3 separate regions of the Homo sapiens genome follow, and all the other regions are linked to region 1. Evidence: promoter capture Hi-C in human tissues and cell types (Jung and others, 2019). All regions are on one chromosome and are shown on one strand. The core of a region is centred on a gene start or on the middle of the fragment in contact, and the rest is flanking DNA. Distances in the headings are between cores, read along the strand shown. Region 1 has its middle 15 kb from the start of DNAJB5. Region 2 holds the start of CCL19 (C-C motif chemokine ligand 19). Region 3 holds the start of CCL21 (C-C motif chemokine ligand 21).

The links. The method cuts DNA at HindIII sites, captures the fragments that hold promoters and counts their contacts. A contact is called where the count stands out against the background at its distance.
Region 2: a contact is called between the fragment with the promoter of CCL19 here and a fragment that was not itself captured in region 1, in 1 of the 25 tissues and cell types used here (dorsolateral prefrontal cortex).
Region 3: a contact is called between the fragment with the promoter of CCL21 here and a fragment that was not itself captured in region 1, in 2 of the 25 tissues and cell types used here (dorsolateral prefrontal cortex and mesenchymal stem cells).

The regions. Positions count from the first base shown.
Region 1 is chr9:35,002,045-35,006,691 of GRCh38, forward strand. It overlaps the pseudogene LOC100420114. Among named protein-coding and RNA genes, the nearest start is that of DNAJB5, 15 kb to the left of the region's middle. RefSeq lists an enhancer at 1,280-1,780. The HindIII fragment of the contact is 4,415 bases long and covers 1-4,374 here.
Region 2 is chr9:34,688,738-34,693,384 of GRCh38, forward strand. CCL19 (C-C motif chemokine ligand 19) reads right to left here and starts at 2,539. Exons shown (of 4, transcript NM_006274.3): 1 at 2,354-2,539; 2 at 1,473-1,605; 3 at 1,193-1,286; 4 at 833-1,102. The coding sequence starts at 2,402. The coding sequence ends at 1,082. It also overlaps a transcript of PHF24 not described here. The HindIII fragment of the contact is 19,341 bases long and covers 1-4,647 here.
Region 3 is chr9:34,707,999-34,712,645 of GRCh38, forward strand. It overlaps CCL21 (C-C motif chemokine ligand 21), which reads right to left and starts at 2,138. Exons shown (of 4, transcript NM_002989.4): 1 at 2,002-2,138; 2 at 1,779-1,899; 3 at 1,502-1,684; 4 at 1,007-1,429. The coding sequence starts at 2,068. The coding sequence ends at 1,396. It also overlaps a transcript of PHF24 not described here. The HindIII fragment of the contact is 9,492 bases long and covers 1-4,647 here.

The sequences.
Region 1 (4,647 bases), core at 917-3,416:
TCATTTTTTTTGGTCTCCTCTGATGAATCAGCCCCCAAAACCCCTACTGAGTAGCTTTCTGAACACCTTGATAGGTTACCTTTGGGACTCTTTCTCAGGCTATGCCTCAGACCCTTCCCTAGGTCATTCTGAAACTTGGCGGGGGGCCCCTCATATGGAAGCTTCTTGGGTGCCCAATCAATTCTTCCTTAGACCCTTGCTGCTTTGACCCATAAGTACCTTGAGGGCTGTAAGAATCTATGATTGTTCCTTAGCTGAGATGTGTCTGTTATTTGCCCTGAGGCTGCATCGGCACCAAAAGCTCTTGGATCCTCTAGGCCAGGACCCACTAGTGCTACATGAGCCTCTTTCAAAAGCAGTGCTCTAGTTGGTTCCAAATATTATTGCTTATAGGAAATTCTCTAGGAAGAATAGAAAATGGCACATAGTCCTGGGAGGCCAGGCTGTACTGAACAAGGTTGGGAGATGGAAGACAAAATTCTTCCTAAGATCTCTGAATTACAGAGTAAAAACTAGAAATTCTCAACAAATGTTGAGCTTCAATTGGGGTGACAGACTATACCTCATTCTGCGTCCTAGGAAAGGATACCCCAGAAGCCTTAATCTGGGGTGAAAAAGAAAGTAATAGGAGCAGGAATGAGGATTGAAGGTGGGCCCAAGGTAGGTGCTGGGATGAAACAGAGTTTGGGGCTGGGGGAGCAGTGGGGAACCTTTAGCCTGTATTTAAACCAGAAAGTGAAAGTGGGCATTAGAGATTCTACTGACTAAAACAAAGAGAGACTCCAGTGCAAAATAATCACCAGAAGTCAGGACAGTAGCCACCAGGGCCTCACTGTGCAGAGGTGAGACTCCAGGAGAGATGGTTCCATCCCCCAAGATTTTGGAATTTGGGAGCTGCTGAGGATGTGCAGCTGCTCTGGTTTGTCTTTGGTGCTCCACAGTGGTTGGGAGCCTATGTTGTCCTGTATGCCAGCAAGTGACTCTAAAATAGTTCCAGAAAAATTTATGTATATACCCCTCCAGCAAAGACTGGTAGACTCATTGGGTGCAATCACTTAATGAAACCTCTGTCTAGTCTTTGGCTAAGCTAGCCAAGCAGACACTTCAGTGGCCACACACAACAAAAAAAAATACACAATTTACACAATTAGTAAAGTCACGACACAAGCAAACAACAATGACAAATAGCAACAACAAAGCTTGGGGTCGGGGTGGGGAGTCTGATTTCCAGAAATGCCACATTATACTTGCCAGGCCTCTGAGCCCAAGCTAAGCCATCATATCCCCTGTGACCTGCATGTACACATCCAGATGGCCGGTTCCTGCCTTAACTGATGACATTCCACCACAAAAGAAATGAAAGTGGCCTGTTCCTGCCTTAACTGATGACATTATCTTGTGAAATTCCTTCTCCTGGCTCATCCTGGCTCAAAAGCTCCCCTACTGAGCACCTTGTGACCGCCCCCCCTGCCCGCCAGAGAACAACCCCCCTTTGACTGTAATTTTCCTTTACCTACCCAAATCTTATAAAACGGCCCCACCCCTATCTCCCTTGGCTGACTCTCTTTTCGGACTCAGCCCGCCTGCACCTAGGTGAAATAAACAGCCTTGTTGCTCACACAAAGCCTGTTTGGTGGTCTCTTCACACAGACGCGCATGAAATTTGGTGCTGTGACTCAGATTGGAGGACCTCCCTTGGGAGATCAATCCCCTGTCCTCCTGCTCTTTGCTCTGTGAAAAAGATCCACCTACGACCTCGGGTCCTCAGACCCACCAGCCCAAGGAACATCTCGCCAATTTTAAATCGGGTAAGCGGCCTCTTCTTACTCTCTTCTCCAACCTCTCTCACTATCCCTCAACCACTTTCTCCTTTCAATCTTGGCGCCACCCTTCAATCTCTCCCTCTCTTACTTTCAATTCCTTTCATTTTCTGGTAGAGACAAAGGAGACACATTTTATCCTTGGACCCAAAACTCTGGCGCCAGTCACGGACTAAGGAAGGCAGCCTTCCCTTGGTGTTTAATCATTGCAGGGACACCTCTCTGATTTTTCACCCATGTTTCAGAGGTGTCTGACCACATGGGGACACCTGCCTTGGTCCTTCACCCTTAGCAGCAAGTACTGCTTTTCTAGGGGGCAAGAACCCCCCAACCCCTTCTCTCCATGTCTCTACTCCTCTGCTTTTCTAGAGGGCAAGAACCCCCCCAACCCCTTCTCCTTCACCCTTAGCTGCAAGTACCACTTTTCTAGGGGGCAAGAACCCCCCAACCCCTTCTCTCCGTGTCTCTACCCCTTCTCTGCTTTTCTGGGGGCAAGAACCCCCGATCCCTTATTTCTGTGCCCCAACCTCTTATCTCTGTGCCCCATCCCTTATTTCCACGCCCTGACCCCTTATCTCTGAGCCCCGATCCCTTATTTCCATGCCCCGACCTCTTATCTCTGCGCCCCGATCCCTTATTTCCGCACCCCAACCTCTTATCTCTGTGCCCCGATCCCTTATTTCCACACCGCAATCCCTTATTTCCGCACCCTGACCTCTTATCTCTGCACCCCAACCCCTTATTTCTGTGCCCCGACCCCTTTCCTGCTTTTCTGGAGGGTAAGAACCCCCGAACCCCTTCCCTCCGTGTCTCTACTCTCTTTTCTCTGGGCTTGCTTCCTTCACTATGGGCAACCTTCCACCCTCCATTCCTCCTCCTTCTCCCTTAGCCTGTGTTCTTAAGAACTTAAAACCTCTTCAACTCTCACCTGACCTAAAATCTAAGCATCTTATTTTCTTCTGCAATGCTGCTTGACCCCAATACAAACTCAACAGTAGTTCCAAATAGCCAGAAAATGGCACTTTTAATTTTTCCATCCTACAAGATCTAAATAATTCTTGTCATAAATTAGGCAAATGGTCTGAGGTGCCTGACGTCCAGGCATTCTTTTACACATCGGTTCCTCCCTGGTCTCTGTTCCCAATGCAACCAGTCCCAAATCTTCCTTCTTTCCCTCCCACCTGTCCCCTCAGTCCCAACCCCAAGCATCACTGAGTCTTTCTAATCTTCCTTTTCTACAGACCCATCTGACCTCTCCCCTCCTCACCAGGCAGAGCCAGGTCCCAATTCTTCCTCAGCCTCTGCTCCCCCACCCTATAATCCTTTTATCACCTCCCCTCCTCACACCTTGTCCGGCTTACAGTTTCATTCCTCAACCAGCCTTCCCCCACCTGCCCAGCAATTTCCTCTTAAAAAGATGGCTGGATATAAAGGCATAGTCAAGGTTAACGCTCCTTTTTCTTTATCCGACCTCTCCCAAAATCAGTTAGCGTTTAGGCTCTTTTTCATCAAATATGAGAAACCCAGCCCAGTTCATGGCTCGTTTGGCAGCAACCCTGAGACGCTTTACAGCCCTAGACCCTGAAAGGTCAGAAGGCCATCTTATTCTCAATATGCATTTTATTTTATTACCCAATCTGCTCCCGACATTAAATAAAACTCCAAAAATTAAATTCCAGCCCTCAAACCCCACAACAGGACCTAATTAACCTGGCCTTCAAGGTGTACAATAATAGAGTAGAGGCAGCCAAGTAGCAATATATTTCTGAGTTGCAATTCCTTGCCTCCACTGTGAGACAAACCCCAGCCACATCTCCAGCACAAAAGAACTTCCAAACGCCTAAGTCGCAGTGGCCAGGCGTTCCCCCAGGCCCGCCTCCCCCAGGAGCTTGCTACAAGTGCCAGAAATCTGGCCACCAGGCCAAGGAATGCCCGCAGCCCACGATTCCTCCTAAGCCGCGTCCCATCTGTGCAGGACCCCACTGAAAATCAGACTGTTCAACTCACCTGGCAACCAGTCCCACAGCCCCTAGAACTCTGGCCCAAGGCTCTCTGACTGACTCCTTCCCAGATCTTCTCGGCTTAGCAGCTGAAGACTGAAACTGCCCGATTACCTCAGAAGCTTACAGGACCATCACAGATGCTCTAGGTAACTCTTACAGTGGAAGGTAAGCCGTCCCCTTCTTAATCAATATGGAGGCTACCCACTCCACATTACCTTCTTTTCAAGGGCCTGTTTCCCTTGCCTCCATAACTGTTGTAGGTATTGGCGGCCAGGCTTCTAAACCTCTTAAAACTCCCCAACTCTGGTGCCAACTTAGACAATACTCTTTTAAGCACTCCTTTTTAGTTATCCCCACCTGCCCAGTTCCCCTATTAGGCTGAGACACTTTAACTAAATTATCTGCTTCCCTGACTGTTCCTAGGCTACAGCCACACCTCATTGCCACCTTTTCCCCCAGTTCAAAGCCTCCTTCACATCCTCCCCTTGTATCTCCCCACCTTAACCCACAAGTATAAGACACCTCTACTCCCTCCTTAGCAACCAATCATCCACCCCTTACCATCTCATTAAAACCTAATCACTCTTACCCCGCTCAATGCCAATATCCCATCCCACAGCACACTTTAAAAGGATTAAAGCCTGTTATCACTCACCTGTTACAGCAAGGCCTTTTAAAGCCTATAAACTCTCCTTACAATTCCCCCATTTTACCTGTCCAAAAACCAGACAAGCCTTACAGGTTAATTCAGGATCTGCACCTTACCAACCAAATTGTTTTGCCTATCTACCCTGTGGTGCCAAACCCATATACTCTCCTATCCT
Region 2 (4,647 bases), core at 1,289-3,788, 310 kb before region 1:
GGACAGAATGAACAGATGGACCCTCAGCCCTGGCTGCTGAGCCTTTCCTCACATATTTATTCATTCTCTAAACAAATATTTATTGAGGGACTGCCTTGTGCCAAGCAGCATGCTGGACACCACAAAAACAGTGGAACCCAAAATAGATGTGATCCCAGTCCAAGAACATGGACAAATTTGGACAAACCAGCAACTATAAGTCAGGGTGATGAATGCTGTGAGGGGCCACTGCAGGAGGCTACCTAACCCAGCCTGGGGTCAGGGAAGGCTTCCTGGAGGAAGAGGCGTCTGGACCCAGATGGGAAGCCAGGTGGGCAGAGGAGAGAGAAGAGTGTGCCAGACCAAGGGAAGGGCATGGGTGGATGGGTATTTTCCCCCAGGCAGTAGAGCTGGGCCCTTTGCCCCACTCCACCTCCCCCAGCCGTGAGAGCTGGTTCCCCACAACTCCCTTCCCCCCAGTGACACTGGATTCCTTAGACACCTGGATGCTTGAACACCTGCCTTGGAGAGCAAAGAGTGGGAGGCATGAGACGCTGGCTCATTCAGGGAACTGACCCAAGCTTAGTGTCGCTGAACTATGGAAAGCAATGAGGCTGATCCTGAGAGCATCAGGTTGTTAAGTGGAGGTGAGCAAGGAGACCCCCTAGGCCACAGAAGAGAAAATAGATCCTGCCATTCCACCTCCCCCTTCCTATTCCTGTCCACCTGGCTAGACAGCAAACGGACAGCAGACAGATCTATGGGTGCCAGGTGCCTTTTTTTTTTTTTTTAAGGCTAGTTAAGCAGTAGGAGTGGAGAAAGAACAAAGAAATCTGTAACAGGTTGTGATCAATTAGTTGTAAACACCAGGCGGCTTTATTGGTAGCATTGCAATCTGGGGGTGGAGCAGCTTTACTCTGACCACACTCACCCTCTCGCTCACACTCACACTCACACACACCCCAGGCCCTGTCCTGGCTGGTCAGGTCTGGTGCAGAGGAGCTGGAAGCCTGGTCCTTCCTTCTGGTCCTCGGTTCCCCAGGTTAGGTAATAATTCACAATGCTTGACTCGGACTCCGGGCTCCCTCTGCACGGTCATAGGTTAACTGCTGCGGCGCTTCATCTAGAGGAGGAAGGAGAGGAAGGATCATGGGCTGGAATCTTAGACAGGAGCTCAGAGGGAGGAGACAGGGCCAGGGAGGGCCAGGCTTGCCTTGGCTGAGGTCCTCTGCAGTCTCTGGATGATGCGTTCTACCCAGGGCTGGTCTGGGGGTGCACAGAGCTGGCGGCCCCTCAGTGTGGTGAACCTGGGGTGAGAGGCCGGAGAGAATGGAGCCCCAGAATCCAGCATGCCTGGGGACCATGTCTGGGAACCTGTTTCAGGGATTTCCTTGAAGGGGTTGGGCTTGGCATGGAGAAGGGGAATAAGAAGGTGGGAGTCTCAACAGGGGCTAAAACGGGAGATGAGGCTAGACACCCTCCCCACAACTCACACTACAGCAGGCACCCTGCAGCCATCCTTGATGAGAAGGTAGTGGAAGTTCCTCACGATGTACCCAGGGATGGGTTTCTGGGTCACAGACAGGCAGCAGTCTTCAGCATCATTGGTGCCACTCAGAGTTGGGGCTGGGATGGGGAAAGAAGGTGACAGGACACAGGGACCCTTGAGGGTGGCATGGCCATGGCCCTAGCTCGGATTGAGGACACCTGTGTGTGTGTGTGTGTGTGTGTGTGTGTGTGTGTGTGTGTGTGTCTGGTGGGGTCGGGGAGGAGTTAGACCTGGTATTCAGCCATTATGCACCAATATGGCTCTGGCTCTACTGGTTGCTAAATATATTGTCATACTTCTAAACTGTTTTGTAAATAACCACTGCCCTGAGCCCCACAAATGACTTCCTGCTGCCCTGATCACCCCAACCTCTCTCCCAGGACAATCCAGCAAGTAAAGAGTTAATGCAGGTCACAGTGTGGGAGGGGCGTGGGGTAGGGTAGGCTGGTGTTAGGAGCCTTATTAATTGCTAAAATTTTTGAATATCAGCCTTGGCTTAGTGTCTGCCATTCTCCCTACCTTAAGCAAATCTCCTTCTGCCTGGGAAACGGAGGCAGCAGGAAATAGAGCTTGCAGAGACAGTCACAGCCATAGGCCCCAGGATGTGCTAAAAGACACACCCGCATTGGGATTCAGGGGCACAGGGACACCCACACTTACAGGCACACATGCAGGGACCTGCCAGGCTCACCGAAATATACAGACCTAAGCATTTGCCTGAACTCACCATGTCCCTTACGTCCAGTGCCAAGCAATCTGAGATCTAGACATTACCCACTGCCAGCCCCCCACTGCCTCTGACCCTGACTCTCCCTTCAGCCTTACCTGGGGAAGTCCAGAGAACCAGCAGGCTGAGGGCCAGTAGCAGGGCCATGGAGGGTGAACAGAGGCAGGCCAACGGTGAATGTGTGAGCGCCAGCTGTCTGGGTGTGTGCAGGATCTGTGTGAGGCTGCAGGGCGACTGGGATGCAGGGGTGAAATGCAAGGTGTGAGTGATGTGAGGCTGGGAATGTGAGCCCTGCAGCTGACTCCTATTTATGGCCAGAGCTTCACTTTCTCTGCCTGAAATTCCCCTTCATGTCCCATTCTGTGATTCCCCTGTTGCCCCCCTCTTTCTGGCAGAATCGCACCCTGCCCCCCTTCTTCCCCCTGCGGTTGCCCTTTCCTTCTGCTTTCCTTGGCTCCTGCTCTGAGAACTTAAGTCTGCAGTCTGGCCCAGTAAAGGGGGCTGTGCACTGTTTCTCCAGAGAGAGGGATTGCCCTGTCATCCCATTGATGGCATTTGCATCATCAACCATGAAGCTGGGGTTCAGAAGTGATGGTCAAAGGTGGGGCCCACAGTGAGGAACTGTGCTCCCTTCCTTAGGTTTATCCCTTGTCCTCACTGGTGCTTCTTTCTTGGGCTGGTGGTGAAGAAGGCTCCCTGGCACCCTCAGGACAACCATGAGATCCTGGGGTGGCCTCCAAGGTCATCACTGTGCCTGCCCACTATGTGGGAACCAGTCCTTCCCTTGGGGCAAGCAGAGCTGAAAGGCCAGGTACCTTGGGAGGAGGCCCAGGACCCCCATCCCACATCTCAGGCCTCTGGGGCTCAGCAAACCCTCCCCTTCCTCTATTTACTGTTTTCCTATGTCCAACACCTGGGTCAAAGGAACAGCTGGAGGGAGACTGGCTTGGAATAGCCCCCTTCATTTTCCCCCTTTTCTCAGTCCTGGGAACCAAGAGGGGATTTCTAAGGAGAGGGGCTGGCCAGCTCATATTCAGACAAATCTTAAAATTTCAAGGAATCGGCCGATGGGGGAGGGGACAAGTGACTTCCCATCCTTATGAGAAAGGTCAGAAGAGAAGGCCTTGAAAGAGAAACTAAATGTGAAACGCCCAGTCACCCGTCGTCACCCAAACCCTAGACCCTCTTTTGGATGGAGAGAGGGAGGGGGAACATTTCCCTCTTAAATTTCTGACTTAGCTTCTTTCCATTCATTAATCATAATAATAGTAATGGTATTTTTGATTGTTTACTATGTGCTAGGCTCTATGTCAAGGACTTTACCACTATTACCTTGCTTAACTTTCCCAAAACAATACCATTGATGTAGTTTTTCTTATTTTCACATTATTATTCTTATTTTACACATAAGGAACATGAGGCTCAGAGCACAAAGCCACACAGCTAGTAAGTACTGGAGCATGATTTGGACCCAGGTGTGCTCTAGGGTTTGCAGTCTTTACCTCCACTCCACACCGCCTGTCTGCCACTTGGTCATGGCACAGCACGGGTAGTCACGGTGCAGAGGAGGGAGACTCTGCAGACAGAGCGCCTAGCTTGGGATTCAGATTCCACCACTTACTAACTGCGACAAGGTGAAAATTCTCCAGTTTCTGTGTCTTAGTGTCCTTATTTGTAAAATGGGAATGGTAGAAGATCTACTTCTTAGGATTAAGTGAGGAACCCTGAGTAAAGCCCTTAGCTTAGAGGCTGACGCACAATAAGCTCTGTTAGCCATTGTTCTTCTTTTGTCCTTTTTTTTTTTTTTTTTTTGAGACAGAGTCTCACTCTGTCACCCAGGCTGGAGTACAATGGCACGATCTTGGCTCAGAGCAACCTCCACCTCCTGGGCTCAAGGGATTCTCCTGCCTCAGCCTCCTGAGTAGCTGGGATTACAGGCACCCACCATCATGCCCGGCTAAATTTGGTATTTTTAGTAGAGGTGAGGTTTCACCTTGTTGGCTAGGCTGGTTTCGAACTCCTGGTTTCGAACTCCTGACTTCAAATGATCTGCTTGCCTCCGCTTCCCAAAGTGTTGGGATTACAGGCGTGAGCCACCGTGCCTGGCCTTCTATCCTTTTATTCAGGTATCTGTTCATTAATTCATCCATCCACCCCTCTTTCCATTGATCTATCCATTCTTCTGTCCATGATGGTTCTGGTTATTCTGTTTGCCCCAGCCTATCCATTCTCCACTCTTCACGGCCCTGCTCTGCTCCCTGGAAGGCTGACCTCTGCAGATAGCATTACTTAGGGTCACCTGCTTTCTGGCTTCTGTTTGGGGCTGGCCCATGGGAAGCAGCAACTGATCAGTGGTGGAAGGAGAGAGGGGTATTAATTCCCCAAATCCTTC
Region 3 (4,647 bases), core at 888-3,387, 290 kb before region 1:
GGATTACAGGCCTGAGCCACCGCGCCCGGCCTTGAGGTTCCTACCTTTCTTGCCCTTCCCCAGGATCTGTTCCCTTCTTTCTCACATTGTCTGGCCCAATCTGATGGCTTCTACTCTCCCCGCCTGGAGGTGATTTGGGGAATAGAAGGGTCTTCACTCTGGGGAGGAAGAGGTAGAGGAGAGCCATCTGAGGCCTTCCAGGAGAGGAGACTGATTCACACCTGAATCCTGGGGTTCTGAAAACCTGCCCCAGGAGACTTATTCCTTGACTTCAAAGGGTTAAATGGGCTAAAGTAGTCTGGATCCCAGCCAGGAAAGAAAGGAGGAAAAAAAAAGGGAGGAGGTTTTTCCATCTGGAAGGAGGCTGAGTGAGTCCAGGGGCCCAGATAGGAATAGAAGGAGAGCACAACAGCCCCATTAAACAAAGAGGAGAGGTCAAGGCCCGAGCTTCACTGAATAGGGCTGAAGCAAGTCCCCTCGGGTCTTTGCCTCCCAGGGGCTCTCTCAGGGCTGGAACTGTGCTAGGGCAGGTTTCAATATAACTTGTGTTTGTCTGTGTTATAGATGGGCCCAAGCCACAGCTTCCCTCCTAGGGACCCTTCCAAAGAACCACTTGGAGGGTCTCATTGAATAGTTCCCAGGGAAAAGAGAGGAAGCCTCTGGGATATCTGGGGAAAGGTCTGAAGGTCATGGAAAAGATCCGAAGGTCACCCCTGGAGTTAGTGCAGGACAGAATCAGGGTCTCAGAGGTCTGCAGAGCTGTTGGGGGTGTGTGCTCCATGTCCACCACCTCTCCATTGGCAGGATGCCTCAGAAGACTGGGTCCTACCCTGTCCTTCAGCCTCCCTTTAACTGCTCAGGGGTGCAGGCACCTGAGAGGCAAGGAAACTCTTGGGGTAGATGAGAACATAGCATTTTTCAGCCTGAGCTTTCGGCTCAGAGTGTGTGACCCCACCCTGTAGGAACCTTGGCATCTCGGTGGACATAAACACATGGGAACAGGTACTTGGGTGGGAAGACAGAACAGCTTTTTATTCAGTTAGGTATAAATCATATTTACAAGGAAGAGGTGGGGTGTACTGGGGAGCCGTATCAGGTCCAGGGTCCTGATGATTCTCCTTCAAGGGGACAGTCCTGCTGCCTCCTCTCATGCTCCCTGGGAGACTCTCCCTCCTCGGTCTCTCTGGACCTGGCCTGCTGTGGGCAGCTCAGCCATGCAGGGTAGAGCTGGGAATGCAGATGGGGTGGTTAAAGCAGGAGAAAGAGTGTGGCAAGGCCAGCATGGGGTGGCTGCTCCAGGGCCCCTGAGCATAGCCTCCTTCTTGCATCTTGGGTTCAGGCTTCAAGCGCTGGTGAGGCTGGTGGGGTCTCCAGGGCTCCAGGCTGCTCACTGGGCTATGGCCCTTTAGGGGTCTGTGACCGCTCAGTCCTGTGAGGGCAGAAGAGGGGTGTGAGGGGCTGACTGAGGCTCCCCTTTACCCACATCCCTCAGATTCCTCACCTCTTGCAGCCTTTGGAGCCCTTTCCTTTCTTGCCAGTCTTGGAGGCCCCCCTGTCCTTCCTGCAGCCCTGGGCTGGTTTCTGTGGGGATGGTGTCTTGTCCAGATGCTGCATCAGCTGCTGCACCCAGAGCTCCTTTGGGTCTGCACATAGCTCTGCCTGAGAGCGCTTGCGGGGCAAGAACCTGCGGGTGGGGGCTAGTAAGCCTTCTTAGTCTTGCCCACCATGCCCTCCCCACCCCGTCACCAGCCAGTACCCACCCCTTTGTGTCCACTCACAGGATAGCTGGGATGGAGCAGCCTAAGCTTGGTTCCTGCTTCCGGTAGCTGCGGACAACCTTGGCGGGAATCTTCCTTTGGCTGTACTTGAGGCAACAGTCCTGAGCCCCTCCATCACTGCCTGCAGGGTGGGATTCACAGGGAGCCAGGGGCTGCTGGCAAGCTCCTATCCAGGCCTCTTGATCCCCTTAGCCCCATGCAAGGCCCCTCCCTGCCTTGGTACCTTGGGTCCTGGGGATGCCAAAGGCCAGAACCAGGATAAGGAGGCTCAGAGCCAGTGACTGAGCCATGTCTGTGGTAGAGGGTGAGTAAGAGGCCAGAGCTGAGGGTGAGGTGGGCAGCTGCAAGTTGGGGGTCTGTGCGTGGGCTGGGATTGGCCTGCTATTTATGTAGCTAGACACTTTCACTTCCCTTAACTTATCCCCACTCCTTTTCCTTCCTGAAAGCTGGATTTGCTGGCACCCAGCCCCACTTATCTCAAACTAAGTGGACAGTCCTCAGCTGCCAAATTTTATGTCCTCATTAGTTGAATATGTCTGGGCCTGAGCCTTCCTTCTATTCCCAGCTACTGCTTTCATGCAGGCCTCACTGCCTCTCCCCTGGAACACCATGACTGTCTCCTCACTACGCTCCAGGATCCATACCCTTCCCCTCCTTCCAGCAAATCTGATTATTAAATTGTAAGAGTTCTTTTTTTTTTTTTTTTTTTTGAGACAGGGTCTAACTCTGTCACCCAGGCTGGAGTGCAGTGGTTGATCTTGGCTCACTGAAATCTCCGCCTCCTGGGCTCGAGTGATCCTCCTACCTCAACCTCCCCAGGAGCTGGGACTACAGGCAAGCACCACTGCGCCTGGCTGATTTTTCTATTTTTTTTTTGTAGAGACGAGGTTTCACGATGTCTAGCCCAGGCTAGTCTTGAGCTCCTGGGCTCAAATGATCTGCCTGCCTCAGCCTCTTGAGGAGCTGGGACCACAGGCACATGCCACTACGTCCGGCTACTGTTTTCATTTTTCATTTTTATTTTTTCTAGAGATGAGGTCTTGCTATGTTGCCCAGTCTGGTCTTGAACTCCTGGGCTCAAGCGATCCTCCTGCCTTGGCCACCCAAAGTGCTGGAATTATAGGTATGAGCGACTGCACCTGGTCTGTAGCATAACCATTTTGATTCCCCTTTGCTTTCCTTTTCTATATATTTTGTAGTTATTTTCCTAATGGATACCTTGGTGATTATAATTAACATTCTAAACTGATAACAACCTAGTTTGAATAATACCAACTTAGTTTCAATGGTATATAAACATTTTGCTCGTATACATTTTAGTCCCTTCTTTATATTGTTATTGTCACAGATTACATCTTTATACATTGTGTTCCCATTGACATAGATTTATAATTATTGTTTAATGCATTTTCCTTTTAAATTATATAGAAAAAAGTGGGGCTACAAACTAAAAATACAATACTAGCTTTTATCTTTTTTTTTTTTTTTGACACAGGGTCTCGCTTTGTCACCCAGGCTGGAGTGCGGTGGCACAATCTCAGCTCACAGCAGCCTCGACCTCCTGGGCTCAAGTGATCCTTCCACCTCAGTCTCCTGAGTAGTGGGGCCACCATGCCTGGCTAATTTTTGTATTTTTTGTAGACACGAGGTCTCACTATGTTGCCCAGGCTAGTCTCGAACGCCTGACCTCAAGCAATTCACCCGCCTTGGCCTCCCAAAGTAATGGGATTACAAGTGTGAACCAGCATACCTGGCAATGTTGTTACTTTTTTTTTTTTTTTTTTGAGACAGAGTCTCACTCTTTCGCCCAGGCTGGAGTGCAGTGGCGTGATCTTGGCTCACTGCAACCTCCACCCTCCGGGTTCAAGCCATTCTCCTGCCTCAGCCTCCCGAGTAACTGGGATTATGGGCACCTGTCACCACATCCAGCTAATTTTTCTATTTTTTGTAGAGATGGGGTTTCACCATGTTGGCCTGGTTGGTCTCAAACTCCTGACCTCAAATGATCCGCTCACCTTGGCCTCCCAAAGTGCTGGGATTACAGACATGAGCCACTGCGCCCAGCCTGCTATGTTGTTATGTTTATCAGAGATCTTTGTTTCTTTGTGTGGCTGTGAGTTATTATTTTTTGTCCTTTTGTTTCATTCTGAAGGTCTTCCTTTAGCATTTGTTTGTTTGTTTGTTTGTTTTTTCTTTCTCCCGTTAGCTTTTCTTGTGGGCAGGTCTACTATTAATGAACTTCCTAAGTTTTGTTTATCTGGAAATGTCTTATTTCTCCTTAATTCTTGCAGCATAGTTTTGCTGGATATATAGAATTCTTGTTTGACTTTTTTTTTTCTTCAGTCTTTAAATATATCCCCCATTGTCTTTTGGCCTCCCATGGTTTCTGAAATCAGCTGGTAATCTTATTGAGAATCTCTTGTACATAATGAGTTACTTCTCTCTTGCTGCTTTTAAAATCTTTGGGTTTCAACAATTTGACTATAATTTGTCTTGGTGTGGATCTCTGAGTTTATCCTTCTTAGAGTTTGTGAACTTCTTGGGTATGTATATTCATGCTTTTCATCAGATTTCAGATGTTTTGTCATTATTTCTTCAATTTTTTTAATGCCCTGTTCCCTCTCTTCTCCTCCTGAGACTCCTGTGATGAGGTACATTTGATGGTATCCCTGAGGCTCGTTTATTTTTCTTCTCATACTTGATAATTTTAATTGTCTTATCATCAAGAATACTGATCCTTTTTTTTCTGCTTAAATTAGTTGTTGATTGCCCCTAGTGAATTGTACATTTCAGTTATTGTATTTTTGCTTCCAGAATTTCTGCTTGAGTCCTTTTTTTCTTTTTACTAATTTCCATCTCTTTATTGATA